3 separate regions of the Homo sapiens genome follow, and all the other regions are linked to region 1. The links are contacts of gene promoters, found by promoter capture Hi-C in human tissues and cell types (Jung and others, 2019). All regions are on one chromosome and are shown on one strand. The core of a region is centred on a gene start or on the middle of the fragment in contact, and the rest is flanking DNA. Distances in the headings are between cores, read along the strand shown. Region 1 holds the start of ZNF823 (zinc finger protein 823). Region 2 holds the start of SWSAP1 (SWIM-type zinc finger 7 associated protein 1). Region 3 has its middle 12 kb from the start of ZNF20.

Region 1 (2,700 bases), core at 140-2,639:
AAGTTGATTGAAGATTTCATTTCATCTATTGACATCTCATGTTCAGCTCCTTTCTATTTAGCCATGGCTACCAGCTTCTAGTTCATAACGCTTTTTTTTTTTTTTTTTTGAGATGGAGTTTTTTTTTTTCCTCGCTCTGTTGCCCAGGCTGGAGTGCAGTGGTGTGATGTCGGCTCACTGCAACCTCTGCCTGCCGGGTTCAAGCGATACTCCTGCCTCAGCTTCCTGAGGAGCCGGGATTACAGGAGCGTGCCACCACACCCGGCTAATTTTGCGTTTTTAGTAGAAACGGGGTTTCATCATGTTTGTCAGGCTGGTCTCAAACTCCCGACCTCAGGTGATCCACCCGCCTCAGCCTCCCAAAGTGCTGGGATTACAGGCGTGAGCCACCGCGCCCGGCCATAACGCTTTTAAGTCTAGTATTTTTACTTCATAAACATATGGAGAAAGGCTAATGTTTTCAAATTCAAAGTGTGATGTCTTGGCTTTTGATTGGAGCGTTTAATTCATTAACATTTAATGGCATAAGGAGGGAGCATTTCCACGCTGTGCAGAGGGGACAGGTATTTTGAGACCTCAGAGTAAAATTCTTAATTGTCCCTCCCTTATCACCAGCTTCTGATCCACCCCGGAGCTCCATTTTAGGAATCATTGCCTGGCTTCCCAGCTTGGGGATATGTTTGACCTCCTGAAAGGGGGTCTGCTTGTGAACTGTGAGTGCAGTAGGCTGCTTCTCTGAGCTTGTTCAAGTTTTTGCTTTTCTTCTCTTTTGATTCTTTATGAAATATTGCTGCCATATAATTCCAGTTTTTCCACATACTCAACTATTTTATTTTGTTGTCCTGTTTTTATCTTCTGGGCTGAAAATGAGTAGATTGAGAGATAAGGTGAGGGAAAGGCTTGGCAACGTCGCCAACAGCCTCATCCCAAATTCCTGATCCCTGGAGGACATCAGGCCCTCCCTCCTGCTGCAGGGTGGCCTGTGTGCCCCGGGCTCCCCTCCTGCTCCGAGGTCCGGGAATGGCTCCACTGGACAGGGAGCCTGGAATTCCCTGCACACACTTGTGAGTCCCTGTCCAGGAGGAAAAAGCAGGAAGAACCCACTGAATACAATCAGGAAATTCTAAAATGCAAACGTCACTTCGGGAGGGGTCAGGTCACTCCGTTGGGAGGAAGCCCGCCTTGCCAAGGGTCGTGCCTGGAACCTGTTCATCCGGCTCCACTCAGCACTGTGAGATCGCTTCTTCTGTCAATCAGCCACCAAGGGGCGGGACCTGGAGCACTATCCAATCAGGGATGAGGGGGCGGGGATTGTGAGAACTGTCAATCAGGCACGCTGCAGGGAGGAGGGTGCGACGTTCAAAGAGCCCGCGGAGTCTTCTCCACGCCCCTGCGCTCTGAGTCCTGGCTCTGGCGCTGAGAGAGAGACGCCCTGGAAGGTCTGTATCAGCGTCTGTCGCGCTGGGACCCACACTGGCTTTTAAGGAGGACACCCGGACACCTGGAAGCTGGGAAATGGTGAGTGTGCGGGGCCCGGCGTCCCGAGGCAAAGAAGGGGCAGGTTGGAACCGGCCGGAACCGACCGTGAGGGGACCCGGGCCTCGCCCTGGGCGACTCCGGGGTCTGCAAATCCCAGTGCCCCTGGCGCAGCTCTGCCCTTGGTCCCCTGGGCCGCAAGATGGGGCTGGGGCGGCAGCCGGGACCCCGGGCGTCCTGTCCCGTCCCTGCTCGGCCGCTGCGGCCCCGGCCCCGGCGCCCTCTCTGGGCAGCTCCGCGCCCGCAGCTCCGCGTCTCCCCAGATTGTGCAGTTGTAACCGGCACAGGTTCACGGCCCGAGTCACTGCACCGAGACGCCGAAGGCTGCAGCAGAAACAGTTTAATGGGGGAGAGGGGAGGACACCCCAGATCCGCCTCCCTGAGAGGTTTGGGGATGGGGTGTTTAGAGGTGTGGACAGGGACGGCTGGAGTGTGGGGTCGCTGGTTGGTGGAGAAGTGAGAGGTGACTCCTGGGACTGGAGGTGAAGAAACCGCATTCTGCTGAGTGGGTTCCCTTGTGGGGTCTTCAGCCTGGTTGGCGCCAGCCTTTCCGCTGCAATTCAGGATCCGAGAAAGAACTGAGGCGACCCGTGAGCAACTCTCAAGAGATCTTATCCCCGGGCACGATGAGGAAGCCGGCGGTCAGCGTCTGCTGTGACCTGACTCTCAGGGAGGCGGCCCCGTGAGGCAGCGGGGCTGAGGGCACCTGGTTAATATCTAACTGCAATCTCGCCTCCAGCCTGGCTCGCAGTTCCTGTGAACCCGGTGAGGACGCTGCACGGTGACAACGGAGGGTCACCAGGCAGAATCCAGACTCGTGTGTGTGGGCTTTGTGCTTTGGAAGAGAAGCTGTGATCTGTGGGTTCCCCAGTCCCTTCTTTCTTCCCAAAGGTGACCGGTTTCCCTCCGAGTCTTCCAAAGATGTGGGCAGCAGGGTCTCAAATCCACCACCCTATCCCCTCATCCTAACTCCTCCTAGGGCTGGCAGCAAATCTCTTGGTTTTCAGAGCCTTCCCCAGGCTAACTGTCTCTCATCAATTCCCAGCAACTTTATGAACTCTTTGTCCCTCAGGCAATATTTCAAACAGAGGCATTATTTTAATTGTCACTTTCTTTTCACATAGCAATGTATGGCTCTTTTTAAAAGATGTGTTTTTGTGTTTG
Region 2 (2,700 bases), core at 113-2,612, 360 kb after region 1:
CCCACCAAAGCTCAGGGCTGGCCTCCAGAGCTTGAACCCTTGCCTGAGCTGGGGTCACCAGCCTGGGTGGGCCACGGAGCGATCATCATTTCTCCATCTGATCGGAAAGTCACCCACCACTCTGTTCTGGGGCCCAGCCCGCCTGGCTCCAGGCAGGCTCGGAGGCCGTGCTCTCCTGGACCTGGTGCATCTGGCTGCAGCCAGCACTGGGCAGGAAAATACCGCTGGAGCAGTGCCAGGTGCAGGACGTCCCCACTACCTGCTTCCTCCTGGGTCTGGAGGGCCACCATGAGCCCACAATCCCGGCCAGGCCCAAGCCGGTGGCTGAAGTGGGCAGCTGTGTCTAGAAGTAAGGCAATGAGGTAGGCGGCTTCCTGGGGCTCTGGGTCTTCCGCTAGGTACTCTTCTAGGCCGTCGAGCAGCAGAAGGGAGGGGGCTGGCCCCGGGGCCTCATGGGCAGAGCACAGGAGCCGGAAAAGCTCTCGGGTTGAGGGTGGGTACTGGAAGCGGATCTTCTAGAAGGAGAAACAGAAGGAAAGGGCCGGATTCAGCACAGGAAGCCAGACTCCTTAAAAGTAACCCTGCCTCCTTGCATACTTTCCTTGGTTCCAGGATGAACCAGTTCAGAGCTGTTAAATATTCTTATATTCGCCCGTTTTTCCAGCACTCATCACTGCCGAGTATTAGTTGAGGGCAAGCCATTTTTGCTTGTTTGTTTTTGGCCAAATCTCTAGCGCAATTTTTCCACGGAAAACCCTCCCCCAGCATTCTCGGTCTGACCCCATCCTTGACACTAACAGGAACCAACTCAGGTCCAGAATGGACCCAAGCTTAGCCCCGCCCCTTGATGGGCCGGACTTCAATCTCTGGGCACCGCCTCTTGCTAACACCGCCCATCATTGGATGGGCTCTCACTTCAATCTTAACTAAGCTCCGCGTGGTGCCACTCCTCACTCCGCCTGCCTGACTCCGCCCCATCGTGGCTGCCCTGGCTCGCTCTTCCACCGTCCTCTCCATTGGCTTGTCTACCTGTTACTCAATATCCCGGATCTACTCCACCATTGGCTAGAACGCCTCTGCTCCCACCCCCACGGTTACCTGGAGTCGCATTGGGTCTAGAGTCGTTCCGGTCCCGCGGGGCATGCTTTGAAGAGGCCTTCGTGTCAGGAAGAGGACTGGGCCTTGGCCCTCCCCCGCCGCCTCTAGGGCCGCAGCAAATAGCAGCGCTGTTTTTCCAGATCCTGGTGTACCGAGCAGCAGCAAAGGCGGTCCGGCGGCAGGCATGTTCTCCTCCCCGGACCAGGCCGCACCGCCCCTGGTTAGCACCCGCCTCAGCGTCTCCGCCATTCGCCGCGTAGCTCTGACCAATCGGTGGCTCGTTCCCAGCCTTAGTCCCGCCCAAGCCGTGGCCGCATCGGTACAGTTCACTTAGTTTCTCTATTGGTCTAGGAATCTGTCCATCAAAACTCGATTCCTCAGGTGAATGGGCAAATGGTTAGAACCTATGCGGAGGAATGGGTGCATTCGAGGGAAATAAGACCCTTCCCTGAGGGAGGCTGCTGGGGGAACCAGCACGAATACTATTATTGTCAGCTAATCAGACAAATATAAGGGTTGAAAGTTGGAGGAGTAGACCAGAATGAGTGACATATTATTTAAAGGCTCCTAGCCTCAGTTTGCCCTGCTGTAAAATGGGGCTTATGATATCTCAGAGGAGTATTGTGATCGGCATGTATTTGTGTGTGGTTTTGCTGATGTCATCCAATGACAACTGAGAGTTTTGGAGAGGGGGATGAGCTGTGTGCTTGTCTTTCTGTGCACCTGAGTATGGGCCGGAGTGTGTGTCTGGGGACACAGGCTCGTGGACAAAACATCAACGGCCATCCCCGAAAGTCTGTGAGATGAAGCCTCTCAACTTACTTCCTCACTGGCTAAGGGGTTCTGTGGGGCCGCCTTTGTGGTACGGGGGGAAGGCAGGACCGCAGGACAAAGAAGGAAGCAGGAGAGATAAAGAGACAGGAGCTGGAAGACTGAAGGAGAGATACAGCAGGGACATTGTCTTGTTCACTTCTGTTCTCCAGTACCGAGAATAGCACCTAGCACATTTGTAGGTTCTCAAATACGTGCTCGTTAAGACAATGAAGGAAGGGAGGTGGGATTGATGAGAAACAGGGAGAAAGGGAGGAACAAAGTGAATGATCGTGATCCCTGGCTGGATCTTCTCACCCAGACTTCGCCCCAGAGCTGCCACTCACGCCTGTGTTGCCCTGGCAACCTTGTCTCCTGGTAACTCCAAAGTGGTGCCGTTGCCTGGAGACCCAGGGGCAGGGAGAAAGTGAGATTTCCTGGGCTTTCTCTCTCCCTCTGGGACCAGAAAACAGCTCCACGACATCCCCCAACACACCCACTCACACAGCTGGGCTCACTCACACCCCTCTACACACACACACACACACACACACACACCATGGCATCTCTGAATATATTCTACTTTCAGAATCCCCATCATCCACATGCTCCAACCTTGCCCTATCCTGACACAAAGCATCCCATACAAACTCTGTCCCACATTCATCCCCCACACCCTTTCTCTTGCAAAACACGCAACTATGACATTGCCACTACACACACAGACACACACAGTGAAGCACACCGATACACTGCGCTGTCAAACACGCCACCTCAGCCCCCATCCCCCAG
Region 3 (2,700 bases), core at 198-2,697, 390 kb before region 1:
CCTCAGCTTCCCGAGTAGCTGGGACTACAGGTGCCCGCCACCACGCCTGGCTATTTTTTTGTATTTTTTTTTTTAGTAGAGACAGGGTTTCACCATGTTAGCCAGGATGGTCTCGATCTCCTGGCCTCGTGATCCGCCCACCTCGGCCTCCCAAAGTGCTGGGATTATAAGTGTGAGCCACCACGCCTGGCCCAAAAATTCTTATTTTGACTATTCATGTCTTATTTTTGCACTTTTTCACAAAGCAAGGTCAAAAAGCAAAGGAAAAATCCTTTAAGATCAATGTACTTAGGTTGAAAATGTGTTTTTTCTCAGGAAAAACTTGTAATTTATATAATTACAATCCTCAGTTTATTTGCAGCATCACCAAATTTTCTTACATATTTCAAATGTGAACTTAAGATATATATTTTTCTCATTATTTACATTTTGCTTCCTACCTATGGCTTTTTTTTTTTTTTTTTTGAGACAGAGTGTCGCTCTGTTGCCTAGGCTGAATTGCAGTGGCACGATCTCAGCTCACTGCAACCTCTGCTTCCCAGGTTCAAGCAAGTCTCGTCACAACCTCCCAAGTAGCTGGCACTACAGGCGAACACCACCATGCCCAGTTAATTTTTGTGTTTTTTGTAGAATTGGAGTTTCACCATGTTGGCCAGACTGGTCTCTAAACTCCTGGCCTCAAGCGATCCATCTGCCTCGGCCTCCCAAAGTGCTGGGATTATAGGCATGAGCCAACATGCCTGGCTCCTCTAGACCTTTTAAATCTTTTACTCATGATATTGGTCAGCCCACGGTCAAAATAATTCATAAAAGGTATATACAAAAATTCAACACCACAATGAAAGTTAAATTCATTTGTTTAGAACCACTCAAGCAACTCAGGTGTACACAGATAGACCTGTGGCAACTGGTGAACAATTAAATGGCACAGAAGTGGCTGGGTGCAGTGGCTCATGCCTGTAATCCCGGCACTTTGGGAGGCCGAGGCGGGCGGATCATGAAGTCAGGAGATTGAGACCATTCTGGCCAACATGGTGAAACCTGTCTCTACTAAAATACAAAAAATTAGCCGGGCGTGGTGGCGGGCTCCTATAGTCCCAGCTACTCAGGAGGCTGAGGCAGAGGAATCCCTTGAACCCGGGAGGCAGAGACTGCAGTGAGCTGAGATCGTGCCACTGCACTTCAGCCTGGCAAAAGAGCAAGACTCTGTCTCAAAATAAATAAATGGCACGGAAGTTGCAATAATGACCTCTGCTGTGCAGTACTCTCTTGGCAGAGATACACAAGAACTCCAATAAGGCCCTCATATGATATGCAGAACTGCCTCAAACATCATGTGACCATAGAACTTTGCCAAGGACAGTCTTTTTGTACATCTCTGCACCTGGCTTACCCAAAGATTGGACTGGGCGCATTTCTCAAGCCATTGTCTACTGAACGTTCTTTGTAGCGTGTGGGGCAATGACGATTGCCTAGGTGTAATTTCCTAATCGCTGGGGTAGGTCTGGTTTCTGAGGGCCCAGCAGAGGAACTCAGTTCACAAAAATGGCTTCCTGTAGTTTCTGCTTGATACTTCCTATTCTGCCATCTTCCCAGAATCCTCTTTCCTGACTTCATATACTAACACGTCATTTCAGATCTCACTACAGATGTCACCACCTCAAGACACTGTCTTCTTTTCCGCCCCCCTTACCCCAACTTGAAACTCAAGGTCACACTCTCTCACCCATTACTCCTATTTCATTTAGTGTGTAGAATTTTTTCAACACACTTGTCAGAATCTGGAACATAACGTTCACAGGGTTGATTGCTCTCTGTTTAACAAGGTAAAAAGTTAAGTCATGTAGGCTGGGTGCGGTGGCTCACGCCTGTTATCCCAGCACTTTGGGAGGCCAAGGTAGACAGATCACGAGGTCAGGAGATCGAGACCATCCTGGCTAACATGGTGAAACCCTGTCTCTACTAAAAATACAAAAAATTAGCCGGGCGTGGTGGCGGGCGCCCGTAGTCCCAGCTACTCAGGAGGCTGAGGCAGGAGAATGGCATGAACCTGGGAGGCAGAGCTTGCATTGAGCCAAGATTGTGCCACTGCACTCCAGCCTGGGTGACAGAGCAAGACGCTGTCTCAAAAAAAAAAAAAAAAAAGTCATGTAAATTTAAGTGTCACCTTTCTTTTCTTTTCTTTTTTTTTTTGAACCTTTTCACCAACTGTTACACACTTTTTTTTTTTTTGAGACAGAGTCTCGCTCTGTCGCCAGGCTTGAGTGCAGTGGTGCGATCTCAGCTCACTGCAACCTTCACCTGCTGGGTTCAAGCAATTCTCCTGCCTCAGCCTCCCGAGTAGCTGGGATTACAGGCACGCACTACCACACCTGGTTAATTTTTGTATTTGTATTTGTATTACAGATGTGAGCCACCGCGCCTGGCTTACACCCTATATTAAAAAGTATTTCAGGGGCCAGGCACGGCGGCTTATGCCTATAATCCCAGCACTTTGGGAGGCCAAGGCGGGCGGATCACTTGAGGTCAGGAGTTCTAGACCAGCCTGGCCAACATAGTGAAACCCTGTCTCTACTAAAAGTACAAAAATTAGCCGGCTGGGGTGGTGGCCACCTGTAATCCCAGCTACTCGGGAGGCTGAAGCAGGAGAATCACTTGAACCTGGGAGGCAGAGGTTGCAGTGAGCTGAGACTGCAACAC

What was found. Contacts are between HindIII fragments. The study calls those that stand out against the background at their distance.
Region 2: a contact is called between the fragment with the promoter of SWSAP1 here and the fragment with the promoter of ZNF823 in region 1, in 1 of the 25 tissues and cell types used here (pancreas).
Region 3: a contact is called between a fragment that was not itself captured here and the fragment with the promoter of ZNF823 in region 1, in 4 of the 25 tissues and cell types used here (dorsolateral prefrontal cortex, lymphoblastoid cells, mesendoderm cells and 1 more).

The regions. Positions count from the first base shown.
Region 1 is chr19:11,737,635-11,740,334 of GRCh38, reverse strand. ZNF823 (zinc finger protein 823) reads left to right here and starts at 1,389. Exons shown (of 4, transcript NM_001080493.4): 1 at 1,389-1,518. The coding sequence starts at 1,516. RefSeq lists silencers at 1,211-1,405, 1,666-1,815 and enhancers at 1,416-1,495, 1,886-2,015. The HindIII fragment of the contact is 18,648 bases long and covers 1-2,700 here.
Region 2 is chr19:11,373,328-11,376,027 of GRCh38, reverse strand. SWSAP1 (SWIM-type zinc finger 7 associated protein 1) reads right to left here and starts at 1,362. Exons shown (of 2, transcript NM_175871.4): 1 at 1,099-1,362; 2 at 1-515. The coding sequence starts at 1,347. The coding sequence ends at 12. RefSeq lists enhancers at 633-682, 703-782, 1,013-1,062, 1,283-1,352 and a silencer at 1,453-1,532. The HindIII fragment of the contact is 10,471 bases long and covers 1-2,700 here.
Region 3 is chr19:12,127,111-12,129,810 of GRCh38, reverse strand. No RefSeq gene overlaps it. Among named protein-coding and RNA genes, the nearest start is that of ZNF20, 12 kb to the left of the region's middle. The HindIII fragment of the contact is 9,523 bases long and covers 1-2,700 here.